Regions from separate parts of the Homo sapiens genome. Here regions 2, 3, 4 and 5 are each linked to region 1. Evidence: promoter capture Hi-C in 16 types of primary human blood cells and fetal thymus (Javierre and others, 2016). All regions are on one chromosome and are shown on one strand. The core of a region is centred on a gene start or on the middle of the fragment in contact, and the rest is flanking DNA. Distances in the headings are between cores, read along the strand shown.

The links. The method cuts DNA at HindIII sites, captures the fragments that hold promoters and counts their contacts. A CHiCAGO score of 5 or more calls a contact.
Region 2: a fragment that was not itself captured here is called in contact with the fragment with the promoter of NUAK2 in region 1 in 1 of 17 cell types (neutrophils); the score reaches 6.0 in neutrophils.
Region 3: a contact is called between a fragment that was not itself captured here and the fragment with the promoter of NUAK2 in region 1, in 1 of 17 cell types (total B cells). The highest score is 5.1, in total B cells.
Region 4: a fragment that was not itself captured here is called in contact with the fragment with the promoter of NUAK2 in region 1 in 1 of 17 cell types (neutrophils); the score reaches 5.3 in neutrophils.
Region 5: a fragment that was not itself captured here is called in contact with the fragment with the promoter of NUAK2 in region 1 in 1 of 17 cell types (naive B cells); the score reaches 5.3 in naive B cells.

What each region holds. Positions count from the first base shown.
Region 1 is chr1:205,319,881-205,324,554 of GRCh38, reverse strand. It overlaps NUAK2 (NUAK family kinase 2), which reads left to right and starts at 2,810. Exons shown (of 7, transcript NM_030952.3): 1 at 2,810-3,157. The coding sequence starts at 2,927. RefSeq lists a silencer at 3,124-3,303. The HindIII fragment of the contact is 5,000 bases long and covers 2,573-4,674 here.
Region 2 is chr1:204,957,938-204,962,611 of GRCh38, reverse strand. The region is part of intron 8 of NFASC (neurofascin); the gene reads right to left. Among named protein-coding and RNA genes, the nearest start is that of CNTN2, 83 kb to the left of the region's middle. The HindIII fragment of the contact is 3,943 bases long and covers 151-4,093 here.
Region 3 is chr1:205,663,032-205,667,705 of GRCh38, reverse strand. It overlaps SLC45A3 (solute carrier family 45 member 3), which reads left to right. Exons shown (of 5, transcript NM_033102.3): 2 at 2,820-3,221; 3 at 4,088-4,674. The coding sequence starts at 3,050. Among named protein-coding and RNA genes, the nearest start is that of SLC45A3, 15 kb to the left of the region's middle. RefSeq lists enhancers at 2,502-3,701, 4,611-4,674. The HindIII fragment of the contact is 6,723 bases long and covers 1-4,674 here.
Region 4 is chr1:204,998,261-205,002,934 of GRCh38, reverse strand. It overlaps NFASC (neurofascin), which reads right to left. Exons shown (of 30, transcript NM_001005388.3): 26 at 1,649-1,765; 27 at 187-339. Among named protein-coding and RNA genes, the nearest start is that of CNTN2, 43 kb to the left of the region's middle. The HindIII fragment of the contact is 8,859 bases long and covers 1-4,674 here.
Region 5 is chr1:205,644,116-205,648,789 of GRCh38, reverse strand. No RefSeq gene overlaps it. Among named protein-coding and RNA genes, the nearest start is that of ELK4, 14 kb to the right of the region's middle. The HindIII fragment of the contact is 8,490 bases long and covers 1-4,674 here.

The DNA.
Region 1 (4,674 bases), core at 1,561-4,060:
TGTATAATTCTTTCATCTTATGAAGAAATGTTGATTCAGCTGGCCAATTGCCACTTGTCCTTCAGGTCTCAACTTAAAAAGTCCTGGCTTTAGGAACCTGCGCCTGACCAGCCTCCTCCCACCTGGGATACATATCTTAAAGAAAATCTGAGCCGGGCGCAGTGGTTTACACCTGTAATCCCAACACTTTGAGAGGCCAAGGCGGGCAGATCACCTGAGGTCAGGAGTTCAAGACCAGCCTGACCAACATGGAGAAACTCTGTCTCTACTAAAAATACAAAATTAGCCGGGTGTGGTGGCGCATGCCTGTAATCCCAGCTACTCAGGAGGCTGAGGCAGAAGAATCGCTTGAACCCGGGAGGCGGAGGCTGTGGTGAGCCGAGATCACACCACAGCACTCCAGCCTGGGCAACGAAAGCAAAACTCCGTCTCAAAAAAAAAGAAAAGGCAATCTGTTCTTCTTCCATCATGGACCCTTCTCCCTCTGTACAGGATTTACTTGTTTATTTCTCACTAGACTGAGAACATTCCAAAGGCAGGAATCTTGTCATGATTGTGTCCCCAGGCTCAGCACCTAGTGGGCACCAGTATTTGTAGAATGAAGTAATTAGTAGAAGGCCACAGAACTGGTTAGTGTCAGAGTCAGGACTCGAACTCAGGTCCCCCAACACTCGGCCCTGTGCTTGCTCTTATGTTATCCATACTTCCTTTTGAGAATTCTAATCATCTGGATGAGCCCCCAGGAATAGAAGCAGATTTCAGAGGGGAAAGGAGATAGCAAGTCAAGGCAACTATCTCTGGGCCTCATCCTATTTGCACAGAAAACCCACAGCAAAAGGGGAGGCTGGTGGAGGGAAGAATGCCAAACCAGCTGCCACCTCCTGTGGCCCTCCAAATTTGGGAGCGATACATTGGTTTCCTGTGTAAGATGGATCCTCTCCAGTCACAAAGGAGATAAAGAGCTCCATGGAGGGATGGAGACATCTGTAACTCACACTAGAAAAATAATCAAAGGATCAGTGGAAGTAGAAAAGTGGGCAGCCACTGGGGGTGGGTCCTTCTCCATCCTCAGCATGCCCTGGATACACAGGGGAGGCACCATCCTCCTGAAGGCCTGAGGGGAAGGCTGGCTCTCCAGCATAGCTAGAATCCATCCAGGGCCCTAAACTGGCTGGCAGAAGGGGTTTCCCTCAGGGAAGAGGATCCAGGTCTATTGTCCTCTATTCTCTTCCTCAGGACCAGGGTCTAAATCCCGCCACTTTATTACCAGTTGTGTGGCCTTGGACAGAATAATACTCATTTCACAGGATTAGGTTATCAAGATGGCCAAAGGGGAAATGTTCCCTTTCTGCCATTTAAAGCAAGAAGGAAAACCTATGGCCATTCTCATTTCACTGTAAATGAGCACTCAGAGTGGAGATTCTGGACCTAGCAACTCCAGGCCTCAAAAACTAAGTCAAGCTGGGCGCAGTGGCTCACGCTTGTAATCCCAGTACTTTGGGAGGCCGAGGCGGGCGGATCACGAGGTCAGGAGATCAAGACCATGGTGAAACCCTGTCTCTACTAAAAATACAAAAAATTAGCCGGGCGTGGTGGCGGGCGCCTGTAGTCCCAGCTACTCGGAGAGGCTGAGGCAGGAGAATGGCGTGAACCCGGGAGGCGGAGCTTGCAGTGAGCAGAGATCGCACCACTGCACTCCAGCCTGGGCGACAGAGGGAGACTCCGTCTCAAGTCAAACCTCATAACCTACCACCAGTGCTCCTGGCACCAAAATCACAAGAAAACCTTGGGTGGAGCAACCATTTTCAGACTTAGGGACACAGGTTAGATAGTCGGCATGTAAAAATGTTAAATAAATATGTATCCCTTCGGGTTCTCTCCACCTCCAGCCGACACATCCTAAATAAATTCCACTAAGTGGTTGAGGGAATCTACTAAACCTTAGAAGCCCTCTTTTTTTTTGAAACGGAGCCTCACTTTGTTGCCCAGGCTGGAGTGCAGTGGCGCCATCTTGATTCACTGAAACCTCTGCCTCCTGGGTTCAAGCGATTCTTCTGCCTCAGCCTCCAGAGTAGCTGGGATTACAAGCGCGCACCACCACGCCCGGCTAATTTTGTATCTTTAGTGGAGATGGGATTTCGTCATGTTGGCTAGGTTGGTCTTGAACTCCTGGACCTCAAGCGATTCGCCTAAGAAGCCCTCTTTGAGGAAGAAGGAAGAAGTTTCCAGGGCCATTGGATTCCAATATCCAAGTAAGGTTGATCTAACTGAAGACAAGTGAACTCGAACCATAGGACAGCTCTGCACTAACCCTCCCACTAGGCTGGATTCTGCCTCTGTTCCATCCCAGCTCCCTTTCTCCTTTATGGACTCAATGAAGTGGTCAAGCAATTATAGATTTTGGCTTGGGACAAGCAAATTACTCAGGATGAAGAAATACTTTGGTGACCTTTAGTGCCCTCAGATCGCCCCTTGCCAACTGAGAACAGAGTACAATAAAACAACAGGGCATTAAGCAGGACCAAGCGCCACTCAGAGGCAAGTGCAGCTCCAAGGGCCCTCAGAGTAAGCTTCTGGGCCTCAGGCGGCCTTCGCTGGAATCCCCTAGTCCCCATTCCTGGTGGGCGGGTTCCATTGACACCTTTCCCGGCCACGCCGAGGGGGAGGAGGCGGGGCCTGGAGCCCCGGAGAGCCAATGTGGACGGCCGTGGTCACGCGCCGCCGTCGAGCAGGCCAATGGGCGCCGGGGGGCGTGTCCAGGGCCTCGGGCTCAGGGCGTTTATAACAACTTGGAATGCTGTGCTTTACTGCGCGCTCTGGTACTGCTGTGGCTCCCCGTCCTGGTGCGGGACCTGTGCCCCGCGCTTCAGCCCTCCCCGCACAGCCTACTGATTCCCCTGCCGCCCTTGCTCACCTCCTGCTCGCCATGGAGTCGCTGGTTTTCGCGCGGCGCTCCGGCCCCACTCCCTCGGCCGCAGAGCTAGCCCGGCCGCTGGCGGAAGGGCTGATCAAGTCGCCCAAGCCCCTAATGAAGAAGCAGGCGGTGAAGCGGCACCACCACAAGCACAACCTGCGGCACCGCTACGAGTTCCTGGAGACCCTGGGCAAAGGCACCTACGGGAAGGTGAAGAAGGCGCGGGAGAGCTCGGGGCGCCTGGTGAGTGCGGCTCCCTCTCGCGGCGCGGGGCGGGCTCCGGCTTGGCCGCCGGCAGGGAGCGGAGGAGGGCGGGCGGCGGCTCGCTCGTTGCTCGGCGGAGAGGCCAGCGTGGTCTTTACCGCGCTGAGCTTGCGGGGCTACTGCGGGGTGTCCCTGGCAGATGTGTCAGTCCGTGATTGCAGGGACAGTGGTCGCAAACTTGCGAACCCCAGCCAGCAACACCGTACTGCTGTGATGATTGCCAAATAAAAGGGAGGCTATGGATAGTTGGCGCGGAAAAACGAATCGTGTCGTGTCCTGGGATAAGATGGATGGGACTTAAGTTGAGTTTTGCTGGGAAAAGACTGTTCAATAGAGTGCAATGGAAAGAGGAAGTAGAAGGCACCCCATCTTAATAGGTATTTGGTAAATATGTGTGTGGTTGAATGAATGGATGAGGTGTGGATTTCCCCAACTCCAAGAATCTGGCAACCCAGCACACTGGAGCTCTGGCACGGGGTGGGTTTTGACATTTAGGTCCTTTCCAGCTCTAAAATTTAGTTGAAATTTCATTATGATGAGTTTTTGATTCTGGAAAATGTGAAACCAGGTCCACTGTACCAGAGACACCTTTCGGTTTGGGGGCCTTTTCAAGAACATGCCCTGTTACTTTGGTGCGAGCGTAGGAGTCTAGCAGTCTGTGTGACCTTGGGCAATTTCCTTCATCTCTGTACTTTGTTTCCCCTTTTGCAGAACTGTAGAAAACACAGCCTGCCTCACAAGCTGCTGTGAGGATTGAATAAGATCGAAATATGAACTTATATTGCTCCTAACACATAGAACTTGCGGTGAGATAGCCGGGCGCGGTGGCTCACGCCTGTAATCCCAGCACTGTGGGAGGCCGAGGCGGGCGGATCGTGAGGTCAGGAGATCGAGACCATCCTGGCTAACACAGTGAAACCCCGTCTCTACTAAAAATACAAAAAATTAGCCGGGCGTGGTGGCGGACGCCTGTAGTCCCAGCTACTCGGGAGGCTGAGGCAGGAGAATGGCCTGAACCCAGGAGGCGGAGCTTGCAGTGAGCCGAGATCGTGCCACTGCACTCCAGCCTGGGCAACAGAGCGAGACTCCGTCTCAAAAACAAAACAAAACAAAACAAAACGAAACAAACAAAAAAAGAACTTGCAGTGAGAATTTCTGGAAAGGGCAGCCCAGAAAGGATGGCAAATTTGTCAAAAGTTAGTTAGCAGTGGTTAACTGGTTCTCAAACTTGAGTTTAAAGTACGTAAGGATCACCTGGGATGTTTGTTTAAAATACTTACATTCTCTGGTTCCACACCCAGAGTAATTTATTCTGAAGGTCTAGGATAGGGCCATATAATGTATATTTTAACAAGCCTTTTAGAGCAGGTGGTTTAGGCATTATTATGTTTTGCCAAATCCAGTTGGGTGCTGGTTGTGAGGGGGTGTGTGTGTGTGTGTGTGTGTGTGTGTATGGTTTGCCCTATTGGCTACATCAGCAGTTACTTCCCCAGATT
Region 2 (4,674 bases), core at 873-3,372, 360 kb after region 1:
GCAATTCCTATCTAGAGTTAACTGAACATACTAACAAGCTTTCTGTGTTCTTTCAACTACCAATAGGAACCAGACTTCCTGTTTTCTCTTCACTATGGAACTCACCTATTTTAAGATAGTCTCCCTTCATCCATTCTTGATTCCTAAGCTTCTACTTTTTCAGTAAAAGTTCCTGCTTTTCAAGAAGTTCTTTTGAAGTCCTACCCTGGTTTGAACAACTTGTTGAGAATTCAGCAACTTGAGGCATGCCTGTTAGAGGAGACCACACCACCAGGTGAGCCACCTCAAACCCCCACACTGCCTCCTGGCAGGCAGCCTTCTGGAGGTGTCACCTTGGCACCCTGGCTGGGCCAGCTGCCACCCAGCAGGAGTTAATGACGTGGTATCAGTCAAGTTAGGCAAACTGGGGTTAGCACAGGCAAGGTTACTCCCAAGGTTACCGCTGCGACTCACCACTGTACATGTCAGGGTGGTTTCTTAAGGACGAGTCATTATAAGGGTGGTCTGTAACAAACAAAAGAGGGTGAGCAAACAGGAGGCCACGGAGAAGTCACAGAGGCATAAACGGGGAGAGAAAACAAATGCAAAGCCAGAAAAACAACTGAGGAGGGCAGCAGTGGTCTTTTGCAAAGGAAAGACACGGCATATTTGGAAAGGCAATACGCTCAGTGAAGAACAAGCAACACAAAACAGCCCACAAAAGGAGAAAAAAAGGTTAAATCCTGCAAAAGAAGGCAATAATACAGTAATGGTTTTTTTAAAATTAAAGAAATTAGGTTTGAACTTTAATTAATTGGTCCTGCTATATTTTCAAACAAATGAGAGAAGGATTAGTGGTGTCCTGTAGCCATCTTTTGAACAACTCCTTCTTATCAAAATCCTCAGTTCCCAGGACTCTGGGTCAGGCTAGCTCTTGGAGCAGCTAAAGAGAAAGGAGTGTTAGTGAGCTCCGGGGAAGAGCAAAGTGCTGCCTGGGCAGAAGCTAAGCTGCAGGAGGTTGGTGGTAAATGGGAGGAGGTCATTGACCAAAAGAGTTGGGCCAAGGGGCCCTGGCCACACCCAGCAACATGTGTCACTGGAGTCTGCCCAGGTGGGCACCACTATGATCTTGGAGATGTCTCTGTTGGCAGAAAGCCCTCCTTGTGAGGATGCCGGGAGAGGTTCAGTGAGGTGGGGAGAACATCCCTGAGGTTCAGGCTTTAGAATTTAGAATTGGAGCTTGGGACAGGAGAAAGTGCAAGCTGTGAGTTCTACATTTCAGACTAGGAAAGTCCTCCTGAACGTTCTGGAGGTTCGAAGCTCTCTAGACTATGCAGGATTGAAGACATTCCTTATGGAGCAAGATCAGTGGCTTCAGTTCCAATGTTAGGTAATTCAAACTCGTGGGCATTTACTCCTTAATGAGAAAGACATTTCAGAAGAGGACACATCATCACGCCAGCGTCCTGAAGGAGCTTTTCCCTCTCTACCTCTGGTCCCTTCCAGCAACTGGGTTCAAATTGTGACAGTACTAAAAGGGGGTGGGGTATACAGCTGACTGGAAGCCAAGCAGATGGCCCTGAGGAGGCAAGAACATGGTCCAACTGCTCGAGGGACAACAGGGGCTCTGCCAAAACATTTGCATATTTGTCGACAGATCCAATCCCATTACAACTAGTTGCAAGAAGTATGAGAGTCCTTTTCTGGGACTGGCATTGCATTGCATCCCAAATCTGCTTGCCACCTGGTAGGAAGATTTTCATTATTCAGAACTCTCTCTTAAGATGGGGTTTGTTGTAAAGACCCAGCCTGTTTGGGAAGTCTGCTTGGGTCCATCTGGAGCTAAAGGCAGGAATAAATCCACAATGTAACGAAGAGATGGGGTGGCCCAAGGGCAGGTGGGGGCTGCAGCTGGGCTTGGGAGGCAACTCTGTTCCTCTCCTGGGGGTGGATGGTGGCACATACAGATGACAGGGCCCTTCCTTCATGCTCCCATATCACCAGGTGAAATGTAACCTATCTCTCTCCAGAGAAGTAGCCCACGCCCAGAACTGACCTCGTGGTTTGTGAATTCTGGAGCACATGTGAGAAATTCACGGAAACTTCTTTGACTGCTCCAAGAATGTCACTTAGACACTGGAGGAAGAAGGGGTGTGCCCTGGTGTCTGCCTTAGGGAGGACCCTCCTCGCTTACCACAGTTGCCTCTTATTGCATCAGGAGGCACCCAGCACCTGTTACAGCATAGGCAGAGTGGGACGGGCCCAGCTCTGTAGCCCAACTCCACTGCTTATCTTTGACTGCATCCCAGGTTTTAAAAATGATTTCAGATTACCCAGTATTTTGCATTACATACCATTGTCAACTTCCTTCAATGCAGGTAATAAAAATGGGACATGATGAGATTTATTTCTTCCCAAATGGGCAAACTGTGACAGGAGTGCCTGGTGAGAATAGGGCCTTTGAAGCTGCCCCTGCCTGACTGCTTTGCCTCCCACCCCAGACCTGGTTCTGAAGGTACAAGAGAAAGCCTGTGTCCTCTCCAGACAGGAAAGTAGAGAGAGCACCACTGTGCTATTTTAAGCAAGTGTGCCCAATTCTGGGCTGGCTCAGATGCCCAGAACTTGCTCCCAGCCAGAGCTGCCCCTGGGAGAACTCCAGGAAGCTGATGGGGCTCTGTTCCAATCACCTAGGGGGTCTCTCGCCATTCGGAGGAAAGAGTTTTCAGTGGAATAGAGGACCTAGAAATGAAGAATTAACAAACATCCCTTACTTCTTCTGGTAGAGAAGAGTGTTTCTGGAAAGTCCAAGTTCTACATGTTGTTTAAATCTCTAACTGCAGAGGAAGTTAGTTAATTCTACAGAGGAAGACTCTTCACCACCTCAGTCTCTTGGCCTCTGCTCTACTCTGTGTGACAGTGATGGGCTCTGCCCAGGATGACAGAAGGTCAACTGACTCAGTTCCAAAAGCAGCAGGCCGATTTCTAGCGTCGTCTGGGCAAGGAGAGAGGGGCCCTGGTGGTGATGCTGATGGCTGTCCAGGCTCAGCTCAGCGAGCATGTTATCTTGTTCTTGACATCCCTGCTCCTCCCCCTGCCAATGCTGTTAGTCCTGTCCTGGCTGCTGAGGCCACTCCGAGGTCCTGGGCAGACTACACTGTCCTTCCCAGCCCAGCCAGCTGGCAGGCAGTCACCCTGATGTGGACTGAGGAGACACTGCAGACAAACCAACTTTCTCCTCCAAGGGGTCTCCCTGGGCTTGGGTCAGGAATGAGAAAGTCAGGGACGGGGGAGCAACTGGAGTGAAGCCAGGTCACCCTGCCAGGAACTCGAGGGGCTTGCTGCAGGTGTCAGGCAACCTGCCGGCTACCACCTTTGGCAGCCCAGCACCAACACAGATCAGTGTGTGGGGACACTGCAAGGCAGGAGGCGATGATTAGAGGAGGGCAGAATGGAGTTCCAAGACAGAACAGAGAGATGGAAAAGAAGAAAGAAAAAGAAAGAGGGAGGAGAAATAAAGAAGGAAGTGAAAAAGAAAAAGGAAGAAAATGAAAAGGTGAAAGAAAAAAAAAAACATGAGAAGGGGAAGAGAAAAGGAAGCTGCTTCCTTTTGGATCCACCTCTGTGCCATGGTGGAAATGGAGCATGGGGCTGTGTTGGCTCTCAGGACCACCAGCCTCTGCCATCAGCAGGGATAGGGAGGAAGGAAGAGAACGATAATGGTCACACCCCCTACCTGTCCTGAATGAGAAGTGATCTCACCTGAACCTCTCCTGACCCACACCCACCCGGGGAGCCATTGTTCACCACCTCTGCAGGGGCTCCAGGAAGCCAGGGTCAGCCTATTTTTTCTGACCTTTGCAAACTGCCAGCACCCACATGGTGCTCTCTACTGGCCTCCCCAACAATCCTCACTGTCCAGAGCATCAGAAACAACACTCACAGCATGAGTCAGACTAAGGTCTGTTTTTTGGGGGGCTCCTTTATGGAAGGCGTGTTACAAATCCATGGTGTACATCAACATAGACAACTTCCAACGTCCTGAGTGGGCTGAGACTTTGCAGCAAAAGCTCTAGGCTGCCTCGTCCTTGCCAAGAAGAACATTTCTGACTAAGCTTCTCTCTCTCCTCAAGGGAGAGCCACCAACACTATAATGGGTCGGGAAATGCTGATTTGCTTTTGTACCAGCCAAACAGAATCAGGGAATAGAAACGAAAACAAATAAAACTCAAACATAAGCCTGCAACTTACAAACATAGCGATTCCATATGGTTCAGCATATACATATTACAGAATCAAATAAAATTTATTTTGGTGTCTCCACTAATTTTCATATTTTCTGCTATGGGTTTCTTATACAAATAAAGATAACCAAGCAATGAGAAGAAATAAAAGAAATAATCAAGCTGTGTCCGGAGAGGGGTTCTAGATGACCACTGGAAGCAGTGGTTCTCAAACTCTGGGGTGCACTTGAATTACCTGGAGGGCTCATAAAGAACAAAGAGGCTCAGGGCTGTTGAGGTACGATAGGCTGGTTCTGGGTACGCTGCCAGGTTCTAAGGTGATTCTGATTCCCACCAGAATTTGAGGAGGATTGACTTAGAGTAGGACCAAGTTTAACTCAAGGTTTCACAATCAAGAGAGATCGTTTAAGAGCAGCTGAAGTGGCTCAGGCACCATGAGCTGGAAGGATTTCTA
Region 3 (4,674 bases), core at 1,364-3,863, 340 kb before region 1:
TTTTTTAGAGACCAGGTCTCACTCTGTTGCCCAGGCTGGAGAACACTGGCACGATCATAGCTCACTTGCAGCCTCGAACTCCTGGACTCAGGAGATCCTCCCACCTCAGCCTCCTGAGTAGCTGGGATTATAGGTGCATGCCACCATGCCCAGCTAATTTTTATTTATTTATTTTTTATCTTATGTATTTATTTTTATTTGAGATGGAGTTTCGCACTGTCATGGGGCTGGAGTGCAGTGGCACAATCTCGGCTCACTGCAACCTCCGCCTCCCAGGTTCAAGCAATTCTCCTCCTTCAGCCTCCCGAGTAGCTGGGATTGTAGGCGCACGCCACCATGCCCAGCTAATTTTTGTATTTTTAGTAGAGATGGGGTTTCACCACGTTGGCCGGGCTGGTCTCGAACCTCCTGACCTCAGGTAATTTGCCTGCTTTGGCCTCCCAAAGTGCTGGGATTACAGGCATGAGCCACTGTACCTGGCCTATTTTATTTTTATTTTTGTAGAAACAGGGTCTTTCTATGTTGCCCAGGCTGTTCTTAAGCTCCTGCCCTCAAGCCATCATCCCACTCCAGCCTCCCAAAGTGCTGAGATTACAGATGTGAGCCACTGTGCCTGGCCTGCAATTTATTTTAAACAATAGGGAGCAGCCAGGACTTAGAGAATGGGTGCAGGTTATAGGCGAGGCTGGGTCTAACAAAGTCTCTGTTTGCTCAGGGAGGACCTGGTCTCCTGAAAACCCAGAGCAGGTTAGCATTCAGGGCCCTCCCAGAACAAGGGTGGGGAGTGGAATGGGCTGGAAGCCTTTGGCCGCAGAACCCCTCCCTTTAGGCTGGATAGCACTGCCTCTTGGTCTCTGTGCTGTCTCCTGCTTTCCTTCTTGGGGGTACTGTGGAAATGCAGCAATGAGATGCTCAAGTTGAACCTATGACAGCTCAGCTAAGACTGAGGTCTGGCCTTCCACCTTCCTTTTGGAGACAGTATGGGTCAGTATTTTACACCCCTTCTCATGCCACCTCCGTAGGAGGCCGTGTGCCCCATCCCAAAGGGTGAGTCTGAGCAGGATTTAGGGGAGGAGGCTGCTGGTTGCCCAGCCTTATCTCAATTCCCTTCCTTCATGATCTGCCAGCTGCAAAGCCCCTGAAGGTGGTGGTGGAGTGAACAGACCTTACCCAGGACTGATAGCCATCTGATGTTTTTTTAGGCAGTGTCTCCCTCTGTCACCCAGACTGGAGGCAGTGGTCCAATCACTGCGCGCTGCACCCTTGACCTCCCAGGCTCAAGCAATCCTCCCATCTCAGCCTCTTAAGTAGCTGGGACCACAGGTGCATACTACCACGCCTGGATAATTTTTAAATTTTTTGTAGAGAGGGGGTCTCGCTGTGTTGCCCAGGCTGGTCTCAAACTCCCAGGCTGAAGTGATCCTCCTGCCTTGGCCTCTTGAAGTTCTGGGATTATAGGCATGAGCCACCACACTCAGTCCTGGCTGATTTCTCTGTGGCACAGCTCAGAGCACCCACAACACGCTTTGTAATATGCAAGGCCCCATGGGGTTTAGTATTGTGTGAAAAGATAAGATAAGTTGAAATGCCTTTTATAATGAGGTGCTGAGATTGGCAGAGGGCATGAGTAGGGGCTGGGGGTGGTGGAGGCACCTGCCACCATGCCTGGCTAATTTTTGTATTTTTAGCAGAGATGGGGTTTCACCATGTTGGCCAGGCTGGTCTTGAACTCCTGACCTCAAGTGATCCGCCTGCCTTGGCCTCCCAAAGTCCTGGGATTACAAGCATGAGCCACCGCACCCAGCTTTTCATAGTCACTTCTAAGCAGAGGCTTAGATACTGCAATGGCTGTATTGTCGGGAAGCAAGACTTGGAGACCGCTTGCTTGGCGGGGGAGGTACAGGATGGTTCTTTCTGCACAGGAGGCAGGGCTAGCAGGAAGGGGTGTGGGACTTCTCTGCTGAAAATTGAAAAGAGCACCGAAAAATTCCTTTCTCTGCCATTTAAGAGCACAGAAAGGCTGCCCTGGAAGTGGCTGGGCATCCTGTCAGCTTGGGGGAGTCACTGGTATCATTACAGGTATTGCCAGGTGGTGTGGTTTCATGCCCCTGTGAGCTAGAACCTGGGGACGGCTCCACTCTCCCATGACAGTTGGACGGCCATGTGAGGGATTGTTTCTTCCCCTTGAACGTTGAACTCAGGGAGAAACTCAAGGGAGAGATTTTCAGGCCTAGGCTCACCCCAGGGAGCCTTCTGTAAGTTAAAACCCAACCCAACAAAACAGCCTCTCCTCCCTTTCCCCTTCATCCTGGTCTTTGGGGTTAGGGGTTGTGGTGCAGTGTGGCTCATGGCCAAGCAATGCAGAATAGGAAGTGTTACTCTTAACAAAGGGGAATTGAACACCCCAGGTTTGGGGAGTAGAAAGACAAAAGCAAACAAACCAGGCCTGGCAGAGGGTCTCCAGGGGCACCTTGATAGCTGGGCAACTAAAAATTCAGTTGGTTTGATTGCTCCCTCCCGCTCCCCAATACTAACAGGGAAGGGAAATTGTAGATTTTTCAAAACAGAGAATAACCAACATCTGTTTGGCTCTGGAGTGTGCTGAGGTTTAAAAAATCATATTTACCTTATTAATTATGTCAGCCGTAGGCTAATATTAACATGCATTTCCTGACTGGGCAGAAGGGGGTGGCACCTCGGTGACAGGGCCAGTCGCCAGCCTGTGAATGATCAGGATCCAGACAATTTAGAGCAAATCGTGGAGACCTGGCTCCCAGGACTTAACACCCCGTGTGCTTGTGATTGCCCCGCCCTTCTAGGATCTGAGTGATGAGACGTGTCCCCACTGAGGTGCCCCACAGCAGCAGGTGTTGAGCATGGGCTGAGAAGCTGGACCGGCACCAAAGGGCTGGCAGAAATGGGCGCCTGGCTGATTCCTAGGCAGTTGGCGGCAGCAAGGAGGAGAGGCCGCAGCTTCTGGAGCAGAGCCGAGACGAAGCAGTTCTGGAGTGCCTGAACGGCCCCCTGAGCCCTACCCGCCTGGCCCACTATGGTCCAGAGGCTGTGGGTGAGCCGCCTGCTGCGGCACCGGAAAGCCCAGCTCTTGCTGGTCAACCTGCTAACCTTTGGCCTGGAGGTGTGTTTGGCCGCAGGCATCACCTATGTGCCGCCTCTGCTGCTGGAAGTGGGGGTAGAGGAGAAGTTCATGACCATGGTGCTGGGTGAGTCACTACATCCTCCTTCCTTCCTGTTCCAGATACATGCCACCTGGCATGTGGGACAGGAGTACCTCTGCCCTGGGAGCTGCTTGGAGGGAGAGGTGGTCTGCTGGGAAGGCATTGCTGGGCAGGAGGGTGACCCTGGGCTGAGGGGGCACACCAAGAGAAAGAAGAGAATACCAAGGACATACCCCAGTCACCTCTGGATCCCTGGTCCTGCACAGAGCCTGGCTCATAGGAGACACTGGAGAAATGCTCCTAACCTTTGGCTAGCCCTTTTATAATTTATAGCGATTATCTCATTTAATGCTTACAACCACCATTTGAGGTGATCCATTTTACAGAGAAGGAAGCAGAGGCTTTTAAGAGGTTAGGTAAGTCTTAGCCAAAGCCAAATAGCAGCTGAACAGTAGAGCTGGGACTCCATCAAGGTCTCCCAGCCGGAGCTTGCTCCTACCCCTAGGACAAGGGGTGGACTCCTGACTCTGCAGATAAATTCTACAAAAGCCACAGAAGGCAAGTAGTAACCATTGTGTGACAACCCCTCACCCCCAGGAAGAGGGGCCCCTGTGAGGATTGCAGGCTCTGGAGTCACACTGCTTGTTGAAACGCTGCCTCTTACCCTCCCTAGGTCTGCGCCTTTGAATAAGTATCACTTCTTAGTTGCTCCATGCCTCAGTTTGTCCATCTGAAAATGGGGGCATCTGTAATGCCTGTGTTATGAGGAGTAAATTACAGCATCCCTGTGAAGACGTAGCACAGTGTCGAGTACGGAATGTTATTTCCATCCTTCTCACGGAGCTTGGTTCCCCTTCCCCTTGCCCTTTACTTGTCCCAGCCATTGACTCATACTACTTCCCTTCTTGCAGGCATTGGTCCAGTGCTGGGCCTGGTCTGTGTCCCGCTCCTAGGCTCAGCCAGTGACCACTGGCGTGGACGCTATGGCCGCCGCCGGCCCTTCATCTGGGCACTGTCCTTGGGCATCCTGCTGAGCCTCTTTCTCATCCCAAGGGCCGGCTGGCTAGCAGGGCTGCTGTGCCCGGATCCCAGGCCCCTGGAGCTGGCACTGCTCATCCTGGGCGTGGGGCTGCTGGACTTCTGTGGCCAGGTGTGCTTCACTCCACTGGAGGCCCTGCTCTCTGACCTCTTCCGGGACCCGGACCACTGTCGCCAGGCCTACTCTGTCTATGCCTTCATGATCAGTCTTGGGGGCTGCCTGGGCTACCTCCTGCCTGCCATTGACTGGGACACCAGTGCCCTGGCCCCCTACCTGGGCACCCAGGAGGAGTGCCTCTTTGGCCTGCTCACCCTCATCTTCCTCACCTGCGTAGCAGCCACACTGCTGGTGGCTGAGGAGGCAGCGCTGGGCCCCACCGAGCCAGCAGAAGGGCTGTCGGCCCCCTCCTTGTCGCCCCACTGCTGTCCATGCCGGGCCCGCTTGGCTTTCCGGAACCTG
Region 4 (4,674 bases), core at 1,098-3,597, 320 kb after region 1:
TGGGCTCCTCTAGGCTTCCTGGGAGCCTTCAGCTGATACATAATAAGAGCTGAGACACGCCATGCAAGGTGGGAAATGGGGTGGGGGATGAGTCTTCTTTCCGAGGAGAGAGGCAAGCAGGAAGCTGAGGATGAGAATGAAATGCCCCATGCTTGCAGGGGATGGCCAGGCCAGGTCCCCTCTCACCTGTACTGGTCATAAAGGTGATGACGGTACTGCTGATGCCCTCGTTGTCCCGGGAATAAACCCGCAACGTGTATGTCATCCCGGGATAGAGGTCTGTCAGCTGTATAGGCTGAGCCTGGGCCTTAACTGGGACAGTTTTTTTCGTATGGTTGCCTGGGGAACAGAAACCTCAATCAGCCTAGAGCCAGGCACCAGGAGCTGGAGAGCCAGTGCTTAGGTCCTGGTCACCTGTCAAAGGTAGAAAGTGTGGGGGAAGGGACCAGGGAACCGCGGGTCCAGTCCACCATACAGACCAGGAGGTTTCCAGGCAGCTTCCCTATGCCTGTCTGTGCAATACTAACGCTTTTAAACGACCCTTCAGCTGGGGACACCGTTCCCTCTCCTGAAGTTCGCTTTCCTCACCACAGTCTTCACACTAGACATATTATAACCTACTTCCTTAAACTCTCAGCTTGTCAGCAGATGCTCTGTTGCCCTGGAAGCGATTAACTTTTCACATGGATCTGGCTGGTGAGGGCCAAAAGCCAGTTAGCATCCCTCCTGAAAACCAGAGATGAGCTGGGACTCTGTCTCTTGGCTCTCATTCCTAGTTTCACCTCTCATTTCTCACCATGTGGTGAATTCCCACATCAGAAAAAGTGTGTGCCTGTGCATGTAGGCTGTAGGGTGAATAGGGGTAGTAGGAGCCTGAAAAAGTATGGACCAAACTATGGAGTCCAGGTGCTGTGGATGTGAACTCCTCCTCCAACCAGAGAGAACTAAGTCAGCTTTGCTCTCTCCTGAGAGGGTCTTTGGGTAGGCTATCCCAGGTGGATTTGCTGGCTGGGTTAGTTGGCTTAATTGCTTAGAGCACATACTGAAGATGCCAGGATGGTGGGTTTGACCCTGTAGGAACAGGGTCCTTCACTCAGGGGCCACACTCTGCAGTCCAACGAATCTGTACCCTTGGTCCCAAGCTCCAGCAAAGGGTGAGCAACTCAGCTCAAGCCACCAGCTGGGACAAATGGCTCTGGTCTGTGGCTCTGACTGGGGGCCGCTGGCATTCCTCTGGGAGCAAAGCAGGGTTATAGTCCAAGTCTGTGAACTGGCTCACCCAGTCAAGTGGAGCCTGAGTTAAGGAGATCAATGCAGAGGACAGATTTGGCTCATTTGGGGGCTATTCAGAACCCTCATCCTGGGCAGGAAATGAATGAAGGGCCCCTTTACCCAGGTCCTCCACAGACATGCAATCCTAGACTTCCACTAATGGCTTGAGAAGCCCCCTTCCTTTTCCTTGAGCCTGTTCCTCCCACCTCACTGCCGCCTGAGTGCATATCGATTTCATTAAGCCATAATTAAGCCAGGCTAAAAGGCCTCTCTGAGCCTGGGGGAGTTCACAGGAGCTCTTTAATGGCATCTACCACTACCCGCCGCTGCTGCCGACGCCGCTGCCGCCACCACCACCCCGCACAGCAATGCTTACTGTCGATGTACTCAACCACAAAGTCAGTTCCGGGCCCGAAATTGTGCTTCCAGGTGATGTTGGCCCATTTACTGTTGGGGAGCACCGTGACGTTCCATATGGACTGCTCATCAGGGGCTGGTGGACGGGTTAGAAAAGGGGTTAGTGATGAGGAGGGAGTGGCACCAGAGATATGGAGACACACACATACACACAAGCGTGTGCATGCACGCACATGCCCACACTCGCGCACGCACACATGTACACACAGTCATCTAGGAAAGGGGAGAGTCAGAAATGGCTGTGCACAGGGCCTGACAGAGCTCCAAGCTGCAGCCTTGGTGGCCAGGCCAGAGGTCGCTGTCCAGGGACAAGCAGGTACAGTCGGGAGGACTTCGGAGGGAGAGCTGGAAACTGACTGTGTCCACATAGGTAGCGTTAGGAATGAAAGAGTTTTTTTGTTTTCTGTTTTTTTTTTTTTGAGATGGAGTATTGTTCTGTTGCCCAAGCTGGAGTACAGTGGTGCGATCTCGACTCACTGTAACCTCCACTTCCCAGGTTCAAGCGATTCTCCTGCCTCAGCCTCCCAAGTAGCTGAGATTACAGGCCCCCGCCACCATGCCCGGCAAATTTTTGTAGAAAGAGTGGGTTTTGATCTGTGCCATTTGAGGCTTTAACCTGGACTTATTCCCTTTTCAGATCCCTTGTCATGTCAACAGTGTAAGGAAAGGGGCCAGGAAAAAGGCCGTGTGGCCAGGAGGAGGAGGCCACACAGAGAAGATGTGTGCCAGCCCCTTCCCCTTCAAGCATAGAAGTGCTGCAGGAAGGAGAGGGTTATCTTTAAGAGCCGCGAGTCTTGATGAGATTTGCAGGAAGGATGGACTTTTGAAGCTGGAGGAGAATGGTGATCCAGACAGGTGAGGCTGGTCTAAGGAGCCCCTTGGGTTGTCCTTGGTCAGAGAGAAGCCTGGCTGATAGGTCTAACAGCTTCAGATTGTCTAAAGCCTAGAATCTCAGGGGCCCAAGTAAAGACAATGTGAAGCCTTCCTCTCCCTCACGTGGACTAGGTGCGACCAAGAGAAGATAACTCCTTGACAACCAGCCCTCAGTGGTCCAGACACCAGAAGAATCCTGTTCTGTTGGCGTCTCAGCACCACCGAGTTTTTGATGCCTGATCTCTATGCAACACAGAGGACATTAATTATCAAGTTCCTATGAGCTGGGAGCCACTTTATCAAAGCCATGGTGCTGTCTGAAACCATAGCCTGTGTAGAGGAGAATGGCACTAATCTTCAAACGTAATCATTTTGCAAGAGTCCCAGCAGTCTGGTTACCCCATTTTCCAGCAAAGATTTAATAGTGGAGTACTTGCATGAAGCCTCGTATTTCAAAGACTTTACAAGTGTGGCTGCTGTATATTTTATTAGCATGCAAGGGGGCACTGTCACCAACTCACTTGTCAAAAATAAATGAATAGAGTGCATTGGCGATGCATTTATTCATTATCTATTTGACATGTGACTGAGCCTGCAGGGCTGGGGAAGTGATAAAAGATCTCCTGGTTTTCACTTCAAAGAGGTGCCTTCTGCACTACAACTCTGTCAGGCGTTGGTTGCCCCAGGTGAATATGATTCATATTAAGTGAGGGACCAAGAAAGTGATTCCATTGATGGCACCGTGGGGAGGGGAGAAGGTAGGCTTCTTTGCCTGTCTGCCAGACGCTTCAATTGTACTGGCCACTTGAAGCCATCCCAAATTCCAGCTCCTTAGAATTTCATGGCTCTTGCTGGTGAGAATGAATTGTGATTAGTCATTATTTGGGGACTTGAGTTTCTTCCTCCTCAGCTCTGAGCCCTGTAAATAGCTAGAGAATTTGTGTTTAAACAGTCTGGCCACCAATATGAAATTGACTCAAATCTGGCTGTTTTAAAGGCAATGAAGATTGGGGTTCTTTTAGAAAAGGCCAGGCAGTGGGAAGCCAAGATGATTTAGAGGTGGGAGCTGGAGGAAGGCATTGCCACAGAGAGATCAGGATGATGACCCGGAAGCACTAAAAAGTTCAAAGAGAAGGACCAAGCATGTGAAATATCAACACCGAGAAACACAAAAAGGGTCAGGGAGGGGAAGCATAGATTGTCTCACTGACTCCTGGAATGTAAGAATTAAGGAATCTCCCTGGAAATCTGAAAAAGACAGGCGAAGGACAAATAAAAAGGCCTATTTCACCCTGAGAAGAGTAAACTTATGAAACATCTTTTTCCAAGATGTAAGGCACGATAAAGGTGAACATTCATTTTTAAAGTCCTAGACAGCCATTCTGCTGAAGTGAGGTGAGGATGGTTGAGGGGTGTTCCCAAGGTCTAGATAAGATCAAGGCCATGGCCAGGTCCTCTGCAGCGTCTCACAGAACTTGAGGAGTGAGACTCTGGAGGGGCTGGTCCTATGTGGCAACAAGGCCTGTGTTTCAGAAGGCAAGTAACTCTTTGCTGGGGAAGCAAGAGCCACTTCCTTTCTTCATTTTTGGTTCATCTTTTCTCTGAACTCAAAGCACTTGTAGGACACAAAGCCCCACTTTTTAATGAAAAAGATGCCTCACCGTGGCCCCAAAGAACATCAATCACCAACCCGCTGGTGGCAGCTTCTAATACCCCAGCAGGTTCCTCCTCAGCCAACTTTTTCCGAAAGTGCCTGTTAAGTTCTAGATGGCACCTGTGAAGCAAACCAGCATTTTCAGGGTCTCAGGAGCTCACAGCAGCTATGCCTCTCGTCTTCCCTGACAGCTCACTTAACTCTATGTCATTGAACTGAAAACAAAATCCTCTCATGTCTATTAAGCCTCCATCCTCATTCAGGAGGCTGAGAAAAGTGGAGCAGGGTGGGAGAAAGGAGGCCTTGGAAGGTAAAGGGACTTGCCCAGGAGACAAAGGTGGTGCCCACTGGGTCCTACAATTCTACAACTGTGGCAGAAGAGTTCTGGGTGCTTCCTGGCTGCCTCACGCTGATTTTATAGCTGGCCTGTGAGCTCAGGAAGCTACAGACCTTCCCCT
Region 5 (4,674 bases), core at 1,355-3,854, 320 kb before region 1:
GGGAATTGAAGAGAAGGGGGCAGGAGGGGTACTGGATGGGCAATGTCCCATCCTTCACACATTTCGTGGGTTTTCCCTTCTGGCCTGGGGTATCCCTCCCTGCAGAGCCAGTTACAGAGAGATGGGGCAGTGGGCAGCCAGCGTAGGGGTGGGGAATATCTCCCAGGGAGCTTGGATCTCAGGTTACTCCTGGTGCTGCTGGGGAAAAAGCCCTTGGTTTCCAGGCTCAGATCTGATTACAGCAGCCTGACGGTTTTATCACCCTTGGCAGAAGGACTGTTTAGAGCTGGGACTTTCTGGCACCCAATACTGTCACTAGATCTCCATGCACATTAGGGGCAGCTTGCCCTGTGACAGAAGCACTTGGCCCCATTCTGCCCCCTAGTAGCATTTGACCTTGGACAAGTTACTGTCCTACTGTGTGAACAAGTGAGGGTGTTAACAGATCATTTTATTTTATTTTATTTTATTTTATTTTATTTTATTTTATTTTATTTTATTTTATTTTATTTTATTTTATTTTATTTTTTTGAGACGGCGTCTCCCTCTGTCGCCCAGCCTGGAGTGCAGTGGTGCGATCTCGGCTCACTGCAAGCTCCGCCTCCTGGGTTCACACCATTCTCCTGCCTCCGGAGTAGCTGGGACTACTGCCACCACGCCTGGCTAATTTTTTGTATTTTTAGTAGAGACGGGGTTTCACTGTGTTAGCCAGGATGGTCTCGATCTCCTGACCTCGTGATCCACCCGCCTCAGCCTCCCAAAGTGCTGGGATTACAGACCCAACTCTAGAATTCCAGGACCTCACTCTGTACCCCCCTCCCCCAATTGACTGTTTAGTATTTGACAGTCCCTAGTTAATGCACTCTCCTTCTTTCCATCAAGTAGTATCTGTCTACCTTCCTGTATGCTGAGCCTCATGTTAGTTCTGGGGCTGTGGCAATGAAAGACACACTGGCAGCCCAGATTTGGCACCGAGGAGGCAGACAGGGAGCAGCTGCCTGCCTGCTGAGGGACCTGATCCTGGAGAGGCTCTAGACCCAGAGAACACGGCACTGCCTGACCTCTTCTCAGTGATTTTATTACAGTGATGGGTGAAGAGTGTGGAGGCGGCTGCTACAGACTGTGCTCCTCCCCAGATTATGCTGAAACCTAACCCCCAGTGTGATGGCATTGGAAGTGGAGCCTTTGGGAGGCAATTAGGTCATGAGGGTGGAAGCCCTCATCAATAGGATTGGTGCCCTTTTAAAAGAGTTCTCTTGCCCCTTCTGCCATGTGAGGACACAGCGAGAAGATGGCCTCTATGAGCCAGGAAGCAGGCCCTCAGCAGACACTCAATCTGCCACAGCCTTGACCTTGGACTTCCCAGGCCCCAGGACTGTGAGGAATAAATACCCATTGTTTATAAGCCACCTAGTCTACGGAATTTTTTTCTTTTTTTTTTTTAGACAGAATCTCGCTCTATCGCCCAGGCTGGAGTGCAGTGGTGCTATCTCAGCTCACTGCAAGCTCCGCCTACTGGGTTCACACCATTCTTCTGCCTCAGCCTCCTGAATAGCTGGGACTACAGGTGCCCGCCACCACGCCCGGCTAATTTTTTTTGTGTATTTTTTTTAGTAGTGACGGGGTTTCACCGTGTTAGCCAGGATGGTCTCGATCTCCTGACCTCGTGATCCACCCGCCTTGGCCTCCCGAAGTGCTGGGATTACAGGCGTGAGCCACCGTGCCCAGCTATGGTATTTTGTTATAGCAGTTCAAGCTGACTAAGACAGTGAGGCGAACCCTGTTATCTTGCTTTCAGTGATAAAACTGGAGCCTGCTAAGGTGGTGTGACCTGCCCAAGGGCACACTGGTTCAGGGTTATTTTTCTTCTACCATCACCAATTTTCAAAGGTGGAGGTGAGGCTGTATAGGAAACCTTTGCATTATCTTTGCAGCTGTCCTGTAACTCTAATATTCCAAAATAAAAAGGTGTTTTTTTTTTAAGTGGAGGACTTTTGACCCGTCTCCTCACCTTCTGATACACACCAACCAACCAGTCAACCAGCCATTGCTGTTTACTGGATACCTGGTAGGTATAAGGCACCATGGTACGTACAACTATGGGGTGGGTATGAAGATGTCTAAAATGCTATCATTGCTCTCTTTGAGTTCTCAGTTTTCCCTGTGGGAAAATAAGACATGTTCAAGTGAAAAGTCCTTTTTTTGGTAATTTTTATTTTATGATTATTCTTTTTTTTATTTATTAGAGATGTGGTCTCACTATGTTGCCCAGGCTGGTCTCAAACTCCTGGCCTCAAGTCATCCTGTGGCCTCGGCCTGCCAGAGTTTTGGGATTACAGGCATGAGCCACCGAGCCTGGCCAGGAAAGTTATTTCTAACAGCACAAGACTGTTTGATAACTGCCAATAGGTACTGAGGTACAAAGTTGGGGGAAGTGGAGAGAAATGACCACTAGAAGGTTGTTTTTAAAATAGGAATAAAAATGATGATTTCCTGGCCGGGCACAGTGGCTCACGCCTGTAATCCCAGCACTTTGGGAGGCTGAGGCAGGTGGATCACCTGGGGTCAGGAGTTCAAGACCAGCCTGGCCAACATGGTGAAACCCTGTCTCTACAAAAAAAAAAAAAAAAGTTAGCTGGGGTGGTGGCGGGCACCTATAATCCCAGCTACTCAGGAGGCTGAAGCAGGAGAATGGCTTGAACCTGGAAGGCAGAGGTTGCAGTGAGCTATGATGGCACCACTGCACTTCAGCCTGGGTGACAGAGCAAGACTCCAACTCAAAAAAAAAAAAAAAAGATTTCCTTGTATGAAACAGCTGCAGAATGTTTTTGACATAATGAACTCTTGAAAGATGTGAGCACTTCAATTGATTGTACATATATTTTCCTAGCCTTCATGCATTAGCCATTAAAAAAAACCCACTAAGTCTTATTGATTTTATCTCCTACCTATCCCTCACATTGATTTTCTCATTGCCATCCTCACTGCTACTGTCATGGTTGGGCCCTTAGCATCTCTTTCTGGACTCACACATGAACCCATCCCTCTTCCTTTCTCCAGTCCCGCCTGTCCCTCCGCTGGGTCCATGCCTGTACTACAGCCTGGGTTATCTGGCCGGAGCACTGAGCTGACTACCTCATGCTTGGGCTGGCGGAGGACCCTCAGGAGACTCACGTTTCTGCATGCGACAAACAAGCCCCTTCACGTGTGGCTTTGTACACCTCTTTATCCCCTTTGCCCACCGCCTCAGCTCTCCCAGCCCCTCAAATCCTGCTTCAGCCATGATGACCTGCTTCCCTCCATTCAAGCAAACTTTGCTCTGTTGAGCCTCAGTGCCTTTGCTGTTGGCTGCATTCTCTTCATGGAGAGCTCTCTGCCTACTGAATTTGTATTTATTCTCCAACACTCAGCTTAAACATTTCTTTCTATGGCCTCTGAAGTTAATCACTCCTGCCTCAGTCTCCTTATAGCATACTGCTACTGTGGTCCTTATGTTCACTGGGCAGAAATTTGTTTGACTTCATCATCTGCTAAGTCTTTCCACATTTATTAAGCAACTACCACGTGCTGGGGCTGCGACACGGTGAAGAGACAGATGCAGTCTTTGTCCTCTTGGATGTCCCCAAGCAGTGAGGGGGCTGGAGATATGCAGAAGCAATTATAGAATGTGTCACAGTGCTGTGATGGGGGTGTGCCTGGAGGGGCCCAGTCTCAGAGGGGCCCTGGGGGATCAGAGAGGGCTTCCTAGGAGAAACGATGCTTGTTTTTTGTTTTTTAAAGACAGAGTCTTGCTCTTTCGCTCAGGCTGGAGTGAAGTGACTCTATCTCAGCTCACTGCAACCTCAGCTCCCCACCCCAGGTTGAAGCATTTCTCCTGCCTCAGCCTCCCCAGTACCTGGGATTATAGGCACGTGCCACCACGCCTGGCTAATTTTTGTATTTTTTTTAGTAGAGATGGGGTTTCACCATGTTGGCCAGACTGGTCTCAAACTTCTGACCTCAGGTGATCTGCCCACCTCGGCCTCCCGAAGTGCTAGGATTACAGGTGTGAGCCACTACGCCCAGCCATGATACTAAATTGATTTCTGAAGCCCAGGCAAGAATTTGCAATCTGGTCCTCCACCAAGATCTTCCAGGGAAAAGCTGCATCTTATTCATTGTTGTGTTGCCCCCACTCTAGCTCTGTGTTTACACATAGTAGGTGCTCATTACATTTGCTTGTTTGTTTAAATGAATTATTGGGCAAACAAAATGAATGGGCAAATGAAAACTGTATTTCTTTTGGGCAAGTGGACAACCTCAGCTTAACGCTCCAGCTTCTAATATCAGGTGGCTGGGCCTAAGATAAAAGTTGTGTTTTACTTTTGCGTATCATGTGGTTTACTGCAGTACTTTTTTTTGACCTTTAGATTCAGTTTAGTAATACTCTATGAATGATGAGTGGTTTCACAGTTTTTCAGATGAGTTTGTGGCTTTTGTTTCAGTGTGCTATAAAAAGAATAATTTTATTTAATTTATGAATATCTAGTAATTTTATAAGTAATATTTTCCTAAAAATCCTTTTAAATTTTCTTTTTCTTCTTTTATTTTTTTGAGACAGAGTTTTCACTCTGTCACCCAGGCTGGAATGCAGTGGTGTGATCTGGGCTCACTGCAATCTCTGCCTCCTGGGTT